Linked DNA regions of Homo sapiens: all the other regions are linked to region 2. The links are contacts of gene promoters, found by promoter capture Hi-C in blood cells and fetal thymus (Javierre and others, 2016). All regions are on one chromosome and are shown on one strand. The core of a region is centred on a gene start or on the middle of the fragment in contact, and the rest is flanking DNA. Distances in the headings are between cores, read along the strand shown. Region 1 overlaps ZNF524 (zinc finger protein 524). Region 2 holds the start of LENG8-AS1 (LENG8 antisense RNA 1). Region 3 holds the start of NAT14 (N-acetyltransferase 14 (putative)). Region 4 holds the start of ZNF580 (zinc finger protein 580).

Region 1 (3,192 bases), core at 73-2,572, 1.2 Mb after region 2:
AGGTTTTTTTTTGTGGGGAGGTGGGGAGGGGTGTTGCTCATGTTGATCTTGAACTTCTAGATCCAGAAGGAGAGTTAGGGAGGCATAGGGATGTCTGGTGGAGCTCAGGGAAGTGCCTGTTTATCAGCTGATACAAGATCATCTCACTGTTTTACCCACCAGCATAGCTAAAATTGTGTATCTGGATGAATGTCAAACACACCTTTGTCAAGAGACTTGGAGAGAGGGATGGGCGAGGTGTTGGGGGACACAGGGGTGCTCTAGACCCTGTGAGCACTGACTCTGCCCCTCTCTCCTCTTAGCTGGCTCCAGTGCCCAGACCCAAGCCCCCCACTGCTCAATGGACACCCCCAGCCCAGACCCGTTGCCTTCGCCTTTGCCCGGGGAGGAAGAGAAACCTCTGGCCTTATCTCCTCCTGTTCCCCGGGGCCGCCGAGGCCGTCGTCCTGGGGGAGCCACCTCCTCAAATCGGACACTCAAGGCCTCCCTCCCTCGCAAGCGGGGCCGCCCCCCCAAGTCAGGGCAGGAGCCCCCACTGGTGCAGGTGCAGGGGGTGACAGCCCCAGTAGGCAGCAGTGGCGGGAGCGACCTCCTCCTGATCGATGATCAGGGTGTGCCCTATACGGTCTCTGAAGGTTCAGCGGCTGGGCCTGAGGGCTCTGGCCCCAGGAAGGCCCCACACTTCTGCCCGGTGTGCCTGCGGGCCTTCCCCTACCTCTCCGACCTGGAGCGCCACAGCATCTCGCACTCAGAGCTGAAGCCGCACCAGTGCAAGGTTTGCGGCAAGACCTTCAAGCGCTCCAGCCACCTGCGGCGGCACTGCAACATCCATGCCGGCCTGCGGCCCTTCCGCTGCCCGCTGTGCCCCCGCCGCTTCCGCGAGGCGGGCGAGCTGGCGCACCACCACCGCGTGCACTCGGGGGAGCGCCCGTACCAGTGCCCCATCTGCCGGCTGCGCTTTACAGAGGCCAACACGCTCCGGCGCCATGCGAAGCGCAAGCACCCGGAGGCCATGGGGGTACCCCTGTGTGCACCAGATCCAGGGTCTGAACCGCCGTGGGACGAGGAGGGCATCCCGGCCACAGCAGGGGCCGAGGAGGAGGAGGAGACAGAGGGGAAAGGGGAGCCGGCCTGACCCACACCCCCGGCCATCGCTCCCTGGGCCAGGTTTAGAGCAGGGAGTTTGGCTGGTGCTGGGCCTGAGCCAGGGGGCCGGGACACCCTTGTTTCCGGTGGTCTTCCCGTTGTGGGAGCAGGTGGAGGGTGGAGACCTAAACTTTGGGGTCCAGCTGCCTTCAGCCCCCCTCCCCCAGACTAACAGACCCTTGGAGGCAGGGGCTGTGGAAATAAATCTCTGCCTGCTGGCTGCCTGTGTGTGTTCCGTGCCGGGATGCCATCCTCTCCTGCCTTCAAATGTTCTTCCTCGGCTACACCGTCCTGTCGGGAGTGCGGGGAATTGGAGAGGACCCCACTTCCTGTGCCTCATGAGCGTGGTGCTCGCCAAAGAATGGTTTTGGGGGGAACCTTGGCCCCTTCCCCATCTCCATCAGACCCCAAAGTCCATGGGTCCCTCGGAGTCCGCGGGGAATTGGTTCCACGAACCTCGCAGATACCAAGATCTGGGCATACACAAGTCCAGCAGTGGGCCCTGCGGAACCCGCGGATGTAGGAAAATCCGCCCTTCGTATACTGTATGTTCCACCGGTGTTTGGGTGAAAAAACGTCCGCCTCTCAATGGACCTGCAGTTCAAACCCCTGTTGTTCAAGGGTCAGCTGTATTCCCAGTACACATCCAATCTAACTAAAAACATTGAACCTTCCATGCAGACCTGACTGTAGGTCCGACCGCCTCTCTCCTAGCCAATTCCCAGAAATTCTGCAGCCACTTTGCCCCACCTCCTTGTCCTGAGGACCTACTGTTTGGAAGGAAAAATTAAGACAAAGGTATGAGCAGGACGGTCTGGGTAAGGTTTAGAGATAAGGGGTGTGGATTGGGGCGGGGCTAAGGAGCGAGGGGTGGGGCTGAGATTGCGGGGCAGTTAGGCTGGGACCTGGGGCGGGGGCTTAGAAGAGGGTTAGAGTTGGGTGGGGCTTAAAGAGGTTTAGGGGTTGGTCCGCAGAAAGTGAGAGCGGTTTAAAGAGGATGGATAGAGTTGATCTAATAGAGAGTAGGGGCTTGGAGCTGGGGAAGAACAGGAGGAACTGCGTGAGAGTGGGGCAAGGAGGACGGATAATTTTTTTTTTGAGACAGGGTCTCGCTCTGTCATCCAGGCTGGAGTGCAGTGGCCCTATCACCGCTCACTGCAGCCTCGACCTGCCAGGCTCAAGCGACCCTCCTGCTTCAGCCTCCGGAGTAGCTGAGACTACAGACGGGCGCCAGCATATTTAGCTAATTTTTTTTTTTTGAGACGGAGTCTTGCTGTCGTCCAGGCTGGAGTGCAGTGGGGCAATCTGGCTCACTGCAACCTCTGCCTCCCGGGTTCAAGCAGTTCTCTCCCTCAGCCTCCCGAGTAGCTGGAATTACAGGCGCCCGCCACCACGCCTGGCTAATTTTTGTAATTTTAGTAGAGACGGGGTTTCACCATCTTGGCCAGGCTGGTCTTGACCTCCTGACCTCGTGATCCACCCGCCTCGGCCTCCCAAAGTGCTGGGATTACAGGCGTGAGCCACCGCGTCCAGCCTAATTTTTGTATTTTTTTTTTTTGTAGAGACGGGGTTTTGCCATATTGCCCAGGCTGGTCTTGAACTCCTGTGCTCAAGCAATCCGCCTGCCTTGGCCTCCCAAAGTGCTGGGATTACAGGCGTGAGCCACCACGCCAGGCCAAGAGAACGGATTTTAAGGTGAGGGGCGGAGCTTATAATAATTCAGCTCTGAGGTGGGCGTGGTTCAGGGCCGAGGGCCGGGGGCCGGGGCTTAAAGGAGAAACTCTGAGGGAACAGGGTATTGGAGGTGGGACTTAGAAGGTGCTGATGGGGGCGCACGACTGCTATGGAGGCGATGGGGAGAGAAGGAAGTACTTAATCTAAGGGAAGTTCCTGGGAGAGTGGAAGCTTAGCAGGAGGGGCTGAATGGGTCTGGGTTTGGCTGTTTGGGATGGGGCTGAGTTGGGAGCCGGGATTATAGCGATTATATGAGCGGGCAGTGTCAAGTGTGGTAAATCCATGGCTCTTGACCAGCATGCAGCAGAATCA
Region 2 (3,233 bases), core at 271-2,770:
TCAGTATCTACAACAAACCACTTTTGTTGGTGCTTGTGATGACAGCATCAGAAGAAAGTGGGCATAAAACATGGTGGACTGCTTATGATCTTTGCAACTTTTCTTTTTTTTTTTTTTGAGACAAGAATTTCACTCTTGTTGCCCAGGCTGGAGTGCAATGGTGTAACCTCGGCTCACTGCAACCTTGGCCTCCTGGGTTCAAGCGATTCTCCTGCCTCAGCCTCCCGAGTAGCCGGGATTACAGGTGCACGCGCCACCACGCCCAGCTAATTTCTGTATTTTTAGTAGAGACGGGACTTCACCATGTTGGCCAGGCTGATCTTGAACTCCTGACCCCAGGTGATCCACCCATCTCGGCCTCCCAAAGTGTTGGGATTACAGGCGTGAGCCAGCGCGCCCGGTCTTTGCAACGTTTTGAATAAATCCAAAATTATTCCAGAACAAAAAGCTTAGTACCAAAAAGAAAACAAAAACAAAAACAAAACAAACCCCCCCCCCCCCACAGAGTAAAATAACGGAAAAAGATCTACTATGCTAGCACTAACAAAATAATACGTAGTTATGAAAATGGTATGTATTTTTCAAGCTAGACGTTCATAATGGTAGAACATGAGGAGGAAAACTGCCTCTTAAATCCCACCACTTACTGTGACACAGTGACCGGTCCCTGCAGCGGACTGGATAGTTGTATCAGAGTCCTGGACGGAAACAGATGGCACTCAAAAGGTGGCGCGCAGTTCAGAGAAATGCCTATGTACGGATTTGGTCCAATGCCTCAGCCTGACCTCAGGGACCTTCGGGGGTCTGCTCCGCGCCCACCCTTACACATCTGTGACCCCACACACTTCCACCCCAGCGCCACTGCCAACAGCTACACCCATCCCCCTCCAACCGCGTCAGCTTCCAGCCTCGGTCCATCTGAACTCGCCGTGCCCCCTCCCCTGCGCCCTTCCAGATTCATTTGCTAGGGAAGCCCGCTCTTCCGGGTGGAGCTGTTCCTCATCCCCTTTCTTTATCATTCTCTCCCCAGGGCTTCCACATCACCGTGCTGTGGACAATCCCGGAACTCCTGTCACGCCAGTTTACATTTAGGAACAGTAATGGCTCCCACTGACTCAGTCAAAACAAGGCTGCGGCCGGGCACGGTGGCTCACGCCCGTAATCCCAGCACTTTGGGAAGCCGAGACGGAGGGATCACGAGGTCAGGAGTTCGAGAACAGCCTGGCCGACATGGTGAAACCCCGTCTTTACTAAAAACACAAAAATTAGCCGGGCATAGTGGCGCGCGCCTGTAATCCCAGCTACTCCGGAGGCTGAGGCAGAATTGTTTGAACCCAGGAGGCGGAGGTTGCAGTGAGCAGAGATCACGCCACTGTACTCTATCGTGGGCGACGACAGAGCAAGAGCAAGACTCCGTCTCCGAGAACAACAACAACAGCAACAAGAAAACAACAATAAAAAAAATAAGGCTGCGTGGGAGGCAGAAAGAGCTAATGCGGCCACGCTTGTCTCCTCGGGGCCACCGTCCCCACCCAGACTTCCGGTCTGCCTTAAAATGTTCATGCGTAAGTGCGTGGGCAGGAAGGCGGGCTCAAGCGCAGCTCGTGGCGTTCATTGGCTGTGCAGGGCCGAGGGAGGCGGTGCAAGGCCGCCGCGTGACGTCAGGACGCCGCGGTCAGGACGTCGAAGCCAAAGAAGACCAGAGCCAGCCGGGTGGCACAGCGGTGTCGTGGCCGTGTTGCTGATCGCCTGGGTGGTTGTTGGCGTGTCCCTGCAGCGAAGGATCCTGGTTGGTAAGGGGAGCGGCAGGCGAGCAGGCGGGCGGGGATAGCATCTCCTTTTGGTCTTGCGCCCCGCGAGCCCCGAGGCCTTCTCGGCCGTCGCAGCAGCAGACGCCGCGCGCGAGCGTCGACAGGGTGTGGCGGCGCAGGGGCAGCCACTGCGCCTGCGCACCGGGCCTGGGGCCGCGCGTTCGGGCACTAGCGCGCGTGCGCCGTCGTCTTCTAATTTCCGTTCCTCTCCCTTGGAGTTCTCGGGGCCCCGGGGCGCCCCTCACTCGCCGTTGACCGGGTGTTGCCCCGGGCGACGGGCGGCTCCTGCGCGTCTTTCTGGGGCGTGGTGCGCAGGCGCGGCCTGGGCAGTGGCTCCGTGGCTAGTCGTGGGGATCCGAGCGGCCTCCTCCACCCGGCGTCCTCCTTTGCCTTCGCCCAGCCTGCGGGACGGCCAGGTGCTCCCGGGACCTCAGGCCTCGCGTCTGATGCCTGTCTCTGTTCTTGAGACCCGTCCGGGAGTCCTCTGTCCAGCCCCCAACTCCTGACCTTACCTCTAATCTCCCTTCTGCCCTGGGGCTCCTCTTCCTGTGTCCCCGCCACGATCCCTCGTCTCCACCCACGCCCTGTGTCCTGTTTAAGTTAAGCCTTTGCGTTTCTAGGGCTTTTCCCCAGCTCCAGACTCCCGTTCCTATCCCGTCAACTCGTGGGAATTCCGGTTCTCCTGCGGGATTAATTATCCTACTTATCAGTTACTCCCTCTCGGGAGTTTAGGCTCCTGAATCCTTGCTCCGGAGACACTCCACTTTTCTTCCAATTCTCTCTGTACCCCACTCTTAATTCGTTGAACATGTTTTGGGTCTTCTTTGGCATTCCCAAAGCTTTATGTCCAGACACCCAACCACGGTGATCCCTTTTCTCTCCCAGCCCTACCCCTGCTTCCGGGAACCTCCCGTGGAAGCAGGCAGGGGTAGTCCCACTGAGGACTCCCACGTAGGTCTCTTTACTGCCCTTCGGAGACCTTTTTGAAATCAGTCTGTCAGTGCTAAGAACCCATTTCTTCACGTTGGGGTTCACGTTGGCATTCTCAGGAACGCTCAACGACCACTTGCTTCCAGGGTTAACTTCCGGAAAATCCCCTTTTCCTCTCAAAATTTTCTTCTCTTCTCCAATATTCTTCCAGCCCCCTCGATGCTCCCTGAAAGGCCTCCCTTTTCACAGAGTTCTCGGAAACCTTTCCACCCTCTCAGCCTTAAGGGTTCCCTCAGACTCTTCTCATTATAGCATCCATCCTCTTGGTTCAGGTTCCTTTCACAACCCGTACTCCCTAGCTTTTTTTTTTTTTTTTTTTTTGAGACAGAGTTTCGCTCTTGTTGCCCAGGCTGGAGAGCAATGGCGCAGTCTCAGCTTACCGCCCTCCGCCTCCCGTGTTCAAGCGATTCTCCTGCCTCGGCCTCCCTAGTA
Region 3 (3,022 bases), core at 388-2,887, 1.0 Mb after region 2:
AGCGGCCAGCGCTGGGGCCAGCGGGACAGGGCAGAGCCTCATCGTTCTGCAGAATGTGGGGGGTGGGGAGGCAGGGCCACAGGAAATGAGTGGGGTGCAGCTCCAGCCCCTCCGACCAGCCCCAGAAGTAACCACGGTCCAGCTCCAGCCAGCGCAGGAGGTGACCACAGTCCAGCTCCAGCCAGCACAGGAAGTAACCACGGTCCAGCTCCAGCCAGCACAGGAGGTGACCACGGTCCAGCTCCAGCCCGTGGCCGGCCAGCTCTCCAATTCCAGTGGGGGAGCTGTGGCTACTGAGGCACCCAACCTGCTGGTTGTTCAGAGCGGGGCAGCTGAGGAGTTGCTCACTGGCCCGGGCCCCGGGGAGGCGGGGGATGGCGAGGCCAGCACTGGTGTGGTCCAGGATGTCCTCTTTGAGACACTCCAGACGGACGAGGGCTTGCAGAGCGTGCTGGTGCTGAGCGGGGCCGATGGCGAACAGACTCGACTCTGCGTACAGGAGGTAGAAACACTTCCTCCTGGGCTGACGGAGCCGCCTGCCACCGGCCCACCCGGACAGAAACTCCTCATCATCCGCAGCGCCCCAGCCACTGAGCTGCTGGACAGCAGCAACACTGGAGGAGGCACCGCCACGCTGCAGCTCCTGGCCCCACCGCCGTCAGGCCCAGCCTCGGGCCCCGCGGGGCTCCCCGGGGCTCCAGCCTCCCAGATGGTGCAAGTGGTCCCCGCAGGAGCTGGGCCTGGTGTTATGACCCCTCAGGGCCTGCCCTCCATCCAGATTGTCCAGACTCTACCCGCAGTCCAGCTGGTGCACACGTTTTGAGGAGAGGCAGTGATTCCCCTCCCGCCCCGCACAGAGACCCCGACTCACTGCCAGCCGGGGCGGGGCAGGGTGCCGCAGGCTGGGCTTGCTAATAAAGACCCGAGTCTCCCCGCCTGTGTTTTGTTTTCCTGGGGGGAGGGAAGGGGGCAAAGTCATGGTCCTAGCCCCCGCCTGGGAGCGTGGAGTCTTAAGTCTTGCGTCCTGGGTCGCAGATGGCTTGTTCTGCATCCTGGGGCCAGCCACTACGTAGGGCTCAGTTCCCCTGTCCTGAAACCAAAAAAGGCCGCAGGGGTCATTATAGTGGGGAGGTGGTGACATCAGACTCCAGGGAGTGCTACTTGTTCACTGTAGGTCGCCCCGCTGCCCCCCTCGTGTGAGAAGTAGGGGGATCCTTATGCGGAAGGGTTCTGCGACCCCGGGCGCCCCGTGGGTGGAGTGGGGTCCCTGGGGATGGGGGAGTCGGGCGCCAGGATGCTGAGCGTGGCCGGCTCCTCCCGCGAAGGCCCCGGCACGGATGAGAATCCACGCGCTGGCGTCGCCGCCCGGCGCTCAGGTTGCTCAGCAACGAGGGAACGTGGGGCGGGAGCTCGCGCTGGTCCCCAGCCCGCCGCCCGTCTCCTGCCGGCTTCCGCTCCCGTTCTTCCCCAGGTCCCCTTTCCCCGTTGCTCCTTCTCTAGGGATAGGAGAGGTCGCTTCCCGGCCCTCCGCAGGGTCACAGCTCGGTTCCTCCCAGCCCGCCCTCCGGGGAGCTTAGCAACGGTTGCTACGGCCCGGAGCGGGCGCCGCCCCGCCCCACCGCGCGCGGTCTGACGTCACTTCCGCCCGCGACCCCCTTCCAGACCCGCTCCCGAAACCTTGTCGAAGGACCAAAGGCGACCGGTGCAGGTGCTTGCTGGTCCTTGTTCTTGTGGCGCGGGACGGGGACGACTGTGGGGGAGGGGGCGCTGGGGACCGGGGTGGAGCGAGCGTGGTCCGTTCTCTGGCATGTGGGGAGGGTGTTCGTGGACCCCAGTGCCTGGGAGGGAGCCCCGTGCTGCAGTGTTGGCGTCCGCAGCGCGTTTGGGAGTGTAGATCGCTGAATAATACGGGGGAGGGGGGATCCCGGGAGACTTTAGCAAGGTCGCTGAGTATTGTGGGGGGCGCCTGTCCTGCCGAGATCCTCGCTTGGGGGCCCCGAGGGTTCTCAGTGTCCTGATCTGGGAAGTGCCGTTGCTGCTCCCTACCCCTCGGGGGAGCTTTGGGGACAGAGGTGCCCCCCTGACGCTGACCTACTTATGTTCTCACCAGGTGCACGACGCCAGCTCCCTTCTGGGGGGCCGGGGCCTGGGGGTTGCCATGGCCCCCAGCCACCTGTCAGTGCGGGAGATGAGGGAAGATGAGAAGCCCCTGGTGCTGGAGATGCTGAAGGTGAGAGGCAGGGGCCCCAGGGGGCCTGGGAGTGGCTGCAGTGGGGGAATTGCAAGTGGATTCAGCCACCCCCTCCCACCCACCTGAGCCAGCCTGGACCCCTGGAGCGGGATCTTTTCCTCCTGAGCCTCAGCCGCCCTGCTGCTGAAAACCACAGCAGGTGTGGCAGGTGGGGGCTCACCCCCCCAGCCCTACTGGGACCCCAGCACCAACGCCCTCCCTGGTCTCCCATCTCCAGTCGGCTGTGCACGCCAGCACAACAGCCAGCTCTGTGCCTCGGACCCCAACTCTTCAAAGCACAGCCCAGCACCCCAACCTAGCCCAGCAGCCTCCCTCCAGCCTCCACTCCAGCCTGAGGCAACCTCCCTGTCCTTACTTCCCTGGGGCCTCACTGCGGCATTGCTACTGAATTGAGTGCCCCCACAGCTCCTAATTCACTCATCCATCCATCATTCGCTCTCGTTCATTCATTCACTCCATACCCAGTGTGCCACACTGAACATCGGACTGTGCTGCCTTCCCTTCCCATTTGGGAGCTCTCACCCCGCCCCGGGCAGGGTCTACCTCCTCTCTTTGTCCAGGAGGCCCTAGCGTTTCGGATGGCTGAGCCACCCCTCCTGCCCACAGGCCGGCGTGAAGGACACGGAAAACCGCGTGGCCCTCCATGCCTTGACACGGCCGCCGGCCCTGCTCCTCCTGGCGGCGGCCAGCAGCGGCCTGCGCTTTGTCCTGGCTTCCTTCGCCCTGGCCCTCCTCCTGCCGGTGTTCCTGGCTGTGGCCGCCGTGAAGCTG
Region 4 (3,311 bases), core at 582-3,081, 1.2 Mb after region 2:
GACATTTTGGGTTGTCACAACTTGGGGTTGGGGGAGGGTGCTACTGCCATCTGGTGGGTGGAGGCCAAGGATGCTGCTCAACACTCTACAGTGCACAGGATGGGCCCCCACAACAAAGAGTGGTCCGGCTCAAAATGTGTGGTGGCCCACGCCTGTAGTCCCAGCTGTTTGGGAGACTGAAGTGGAAGGATCACTTGTGCCTGGGAGGGTGAGGCTGCAGTGAGCCAGAAGCATGCCACTGCACTCCAGCGTGGGCGACAGAGTGAGACTCTGTCTCAAAAAATATACATACTGCCCAGTAAAATGTTTAAAAAGTACCTTGTGTCCCAAACCAAATATAACTGTGAGGCCTTTTGGGCCCTTGGGCCTCCAGTTTACAACTGGTTGACAGTGGTCTCTGGAATTGTTCCATAAGGTAGGAGCCATATGTGGCTTAAATTTTGATTATGGGAAATTAGTATTTTTTGAGACAGTCTCCCTCTGTTGCCCAGGCTGCAGTATAGTGGCACGATCTTGGCACACTGCAACCTCCACCTCCTGGGTTCAAGCGATTCTCCTGCCTCAGCCTCCCAAGTAGCTGGGACTGTAGGGGAGCACCACTACGGCCGGCTAATTTTTGTACTTTTAGTAGAGAAGGAGTTTCACCATGTTGGCCAGGCTGGTCTCGAACTCCTGACCTCAGGTGATCCGCCCGCCTTGGCCTCCGAAAGTGCTGGGGTTACAGGTGTGAGCCACCGTGCTGATTATGGGAAATGTAATACAATTTAAAATTCAGGTCCTCTGATACACCAGCCACATTTCAAGAGTGTAAGAGTCCCACGTGGCTAGTGACTGTCATAGAACTTTCCACCATTGCAGAAAGTTCTGATGGACAGTGCTCTAGGATGTAGCTGTGGCACCCCAGGGTCTTGGGGCTCGCTGTGACAGTTACTCCTCTTCTGTCCCCCACTCTCAGCTGCACCTGCAGATGCTGCTGCTGCCGCCCTCCTGCGAGGCCGTGGCGCCACGTGGCTGGAGGAGGAGCTGCAGCTGCCCCGAGTGCTGCCGCGTGTGCAGCTCTCCAGTGCGGCTGCAGCGCCACCGCGCGTTGCTTTCGACGCCGGAGTCCTTCGCATGCGCAGCCAGCGCCCGGGCCTCAAGTGCCCCAGGACCTGGCGCAGCCCGCGAGCCCGCATCAGGCTTCCAGTGGGCCCCGTGGGCAGTGCCAGCCTTTCCCACCTCCGCATCTGGCAAAGCCTGGCCTTCGCTGCGCTTCGGTGTCGCCACATGCCTTCTGGAAATATCACACCTCCCCACCTGCGCATGCAGCCGTCTGGCCCTCTGTGGGCCTCGGTTCCCGCATGTGCCCCGTGGAAAGAACATACCTTCCCCAACTATCTGGCAGCGTCTGGCCTTCTCCGGGCCTCGGCCTCCCCATTTGCTGGGTGGAGAATCACGGCCCGGCCACATCGGAGCCAATGGCTGGTCTCTGGACCTCGGTCTCCACATTTGCTCAGCCGGCAGGAACATCCCTTCTCCCGCCCTCTACCTCGGTGGGTGGCCACGGCCGAGCAGGCAGCGACGGCCCAGTGGAAAGAGGACAAACCCTTGTGGGCCTTAGGGCGAAGACGTAACTTTGCTTAGTCTCGGTTTATTGGCCGATCTCTTGTCAAGCGGCGGAATCGTTCCGTTCGGGAGGTGGGAGGGGAGCGGGGCCGCCGGGGGCGGGCGTCTTCAGTGGACCCCACGCCTCCGGTCCCCTCCCCGCAGGGCGCTCCGCAGAGGCGAGGGGTGGGAGCGCCGGCTCCAGGCGGCGGAACCTCCGCACTGGGCTCGCGCGCTTCCGGCCGGCGCCTTTTCCCAGGGACTCCGCCAACCCCTCGCACCCCCGCGCCCCCAGTCCCCGCGTCCCCGGCGCCGCCGGCCCGGAGCTGCCCGGAAGTCTCGGTTCCGCCGCCGGCGCTCGCCAGGGGAAGCCCGGGGCCGCCCGGGACCTCGGCCCGTTCCTCCGGACCCGAGAGGCCGCCGCACGGGGTACGGGGGCCGGGATGGAGGGAGGAGCCTGGCCCTGGGACGACGCCGGGGCCAGGCAGGCTGGGGGAGTGCGCTGGAGCCACCCGGGATGGGGGTGGGGGTCGGGAGCGGCAGGATCGGGCGGAGGGACGGGAGGGGAAGTCGAGGCGCCAGGGCTCCTTGGGGAAGTGAAGGCAATAGGAGGGGCCCCAGGGCCAGGGGACAGGCGGTGTGTAGCGGGATGGGGGCGAAAACGCCCGGGCGCTGGGGTTCCCATAAACAAGGGGAGCAGAGCAAAAGAACGGGCGGGGGACCACGCTGTGTGTAACAGGGAGAGGGATGGGGCTCCTGGAAGAGGTGAACACGAGGAGAAAGAGAGATGCCAGACGTACACAGAAAGGAGGGGAAAGTGGGCTTGGGAGAGGTGCTGTGGGAAGCGGAGTCCCGGAGCCTGGTGTGCATAACGGGGTTTGGGAGAAGGCCCCTGATGGGTACAGAAAGAAGTAACGATGTCACCGCCATATATGGGGGGCGAGAGAAAAGGGGGCCTTTGGGGAGAATGTAGCAGGTAGCCAGGTTGGGGGGGCGGGGTATACAGAAGGAAGGCATTTGAGCCATTTTGGGGTGTATAGATGTAGTAAGACGATGGGTTCCGTAGTGGGGAGAGGTGACTAGACTTCGAGGTGCTAAGTGTAGGAACAGGATGGAAAAGCCCTAGTGAAATGTGGGGAATTGGGTTAGTGGGGCTCTGGGGAGGTACCTAGAGAGGAAGTGAGGGAGGCCACGGAATATGAAGATGGGGAGGCCCTGCGGCATGTAGTGGGGACGGAGGGCCAGGAGGCCGATACGGGGGCCGGTGGGGGGGTAGGGGGCGGCAAAGGGAGGGGAAGTAAACTGAACTGGGGCTGGGCAACAGGAAAAAAGAAGAAACCACAGATTAGAGAAATCTCGGCGGTCAGGAGGCCCGGGGTCTAAGATGTAAAGAGGTAAACAGATTTAGGGATTGATTGTCTGCTGGGGTGGGTTGAGAGGAGAAAAGGGAAGAAAAGTCGGGGGACTACGTCCTCAGACCTGACCTGAGTGGTGAGAGGTGGACCCAGGAGGAGTGGCAGGTGGTGGCGGGGTTTTGCAGAGCTCAGTTGGAGGCCCTCTCCGAGGCAGCTTGATGGAACGTGGGAGAGCCGGGCTGGAGTCACAGTTTTTATTTTGCTAGGGAGGTAGTCAGTGGCGCACAAAGGGTAACAAGCAGTGATAGTGGGGATGCTTTCCATTTTAGGAAACTTTTCCTAAAAGGAAGTGGCAATTTTAACTAATCTCCC

The links. The method cuts DNA at HindIII sites, captures the fragments that hold promoters and counts their contacts. A CHiCAGO score of 5 or more calls a contact.
Region 1: a fragment that was not itself captured here is called in contact with the fragment with the promoter of LENG8-AS1 in region 2 in 4 of 17 cell types (activated CD4 T cells, fetal thymus, naive CD4 T cells and 1 more); the score reaches 11.3 in activated CD4 T cells.
Region 3: the fragment with the promoter of NAT14 here is called in contact with the fragment with the promoter of LENG8-AS1 in region 2 in 1 of 17 cell types (naive CD4 T cells); the score reaches 7.1 in naive CD4 T cells.
Region 4: the fragment with the promoter of ZNF580 here is called in contact with the fragment with the promoter of LENG8-AS1 in region 2 in 4 of 17 cell types (activated CD4 T cells, naive CD4 T cells, total CD4 T cells and 1 more); the score reaches 7.7 in activated CD4 T cells.

What each region holds. Positions count from the first base shown.
Region 1 is chr19:55,601,773-55,604,964 of GRCh38, forward strand. ZNF524 (zinc finger protein 524) reads left to right here. Exons shown (of 2, transcript NM_153219.4): 2 at 303-1,366. The coding sequence starts at 341. The coding sequence ends at 1,135. Among named protein-coding and RNA genes, the nearest start is that of ZNF865, 2.3 kb to the right of the region's middle. RefSeq lists enhancers at 843-1,393, 2,497-3,048, 3,049-3,192. The HindIII fragment of the contact is 3,453 bases long and covers 1-3,049 here.
Region 2 is chr19:54,447,518-54,450,750 of GRCh38, forward strand. It overlaps LENG8-AS1 (LENG8 antisense RNA 1), which reads right to left and starts at 1,521. Exons shown (of 3, transcript NR_126418.1): 1 at 1,045-1,521; 2 at 648-698. LENG8 (leukocyte receptor cluster member 8) reads left to right here and starts at 1,682. Exons shown (of 16, transcript NM_052925.4): 1 at 1,682-1,793. RefSeq lists an enhancer at 1,432-2,339. The HindIII fragment of the contact is 2,202 bases long and covers 447-2,648 here.
Region 3 is chr19:55,483,551-55,486,572 of GRCh38, forward strand. NAT14 (N-acetyltransferase 14 (putative)) reads left to right here and starts at 1,638. Exons shown (of 3, transcript NM_020378.4): 1 at 1,638-1,708; 2 at 2,111-2,230; 3 at 2,858-3,022. The coding sequence starts at 2,159. It overlaps ZNF628 (zinc finger protein 628), which reads left to right. Exons shown (of 3, transcript NM_033113.3): 3 at 1-937. The coding sequence ends at 823. RefSeq lists a silencer at 1,428-1,847 and an enhancer at 1,948-2,277. The HindIII fragment of the contact is 21,455 bases long and covers 1-3,022 here.
Region 4 is chr19:55,639,171-55,642,481 of GRCh38, forward strand. It overlaps ZNF580 (zinc finger protein 580), which reads left to right and starts at 1,832. Exons shown (of 2, transcript NM_207115.2): 1 at 1,832-2,013. It overlaps LOC107983998 (a long non-coding RNA gene), which reads left to right. Exons shown (of 2, transcript NR_171683.1): 2 at 956-1,629. It also overlaps a transcript of ZNF581 not described here. RefSeq lists a silencer at 1,682-2,201. The HindIII fragment of the contact is 9,119 bases long and covers 1-3,311 here.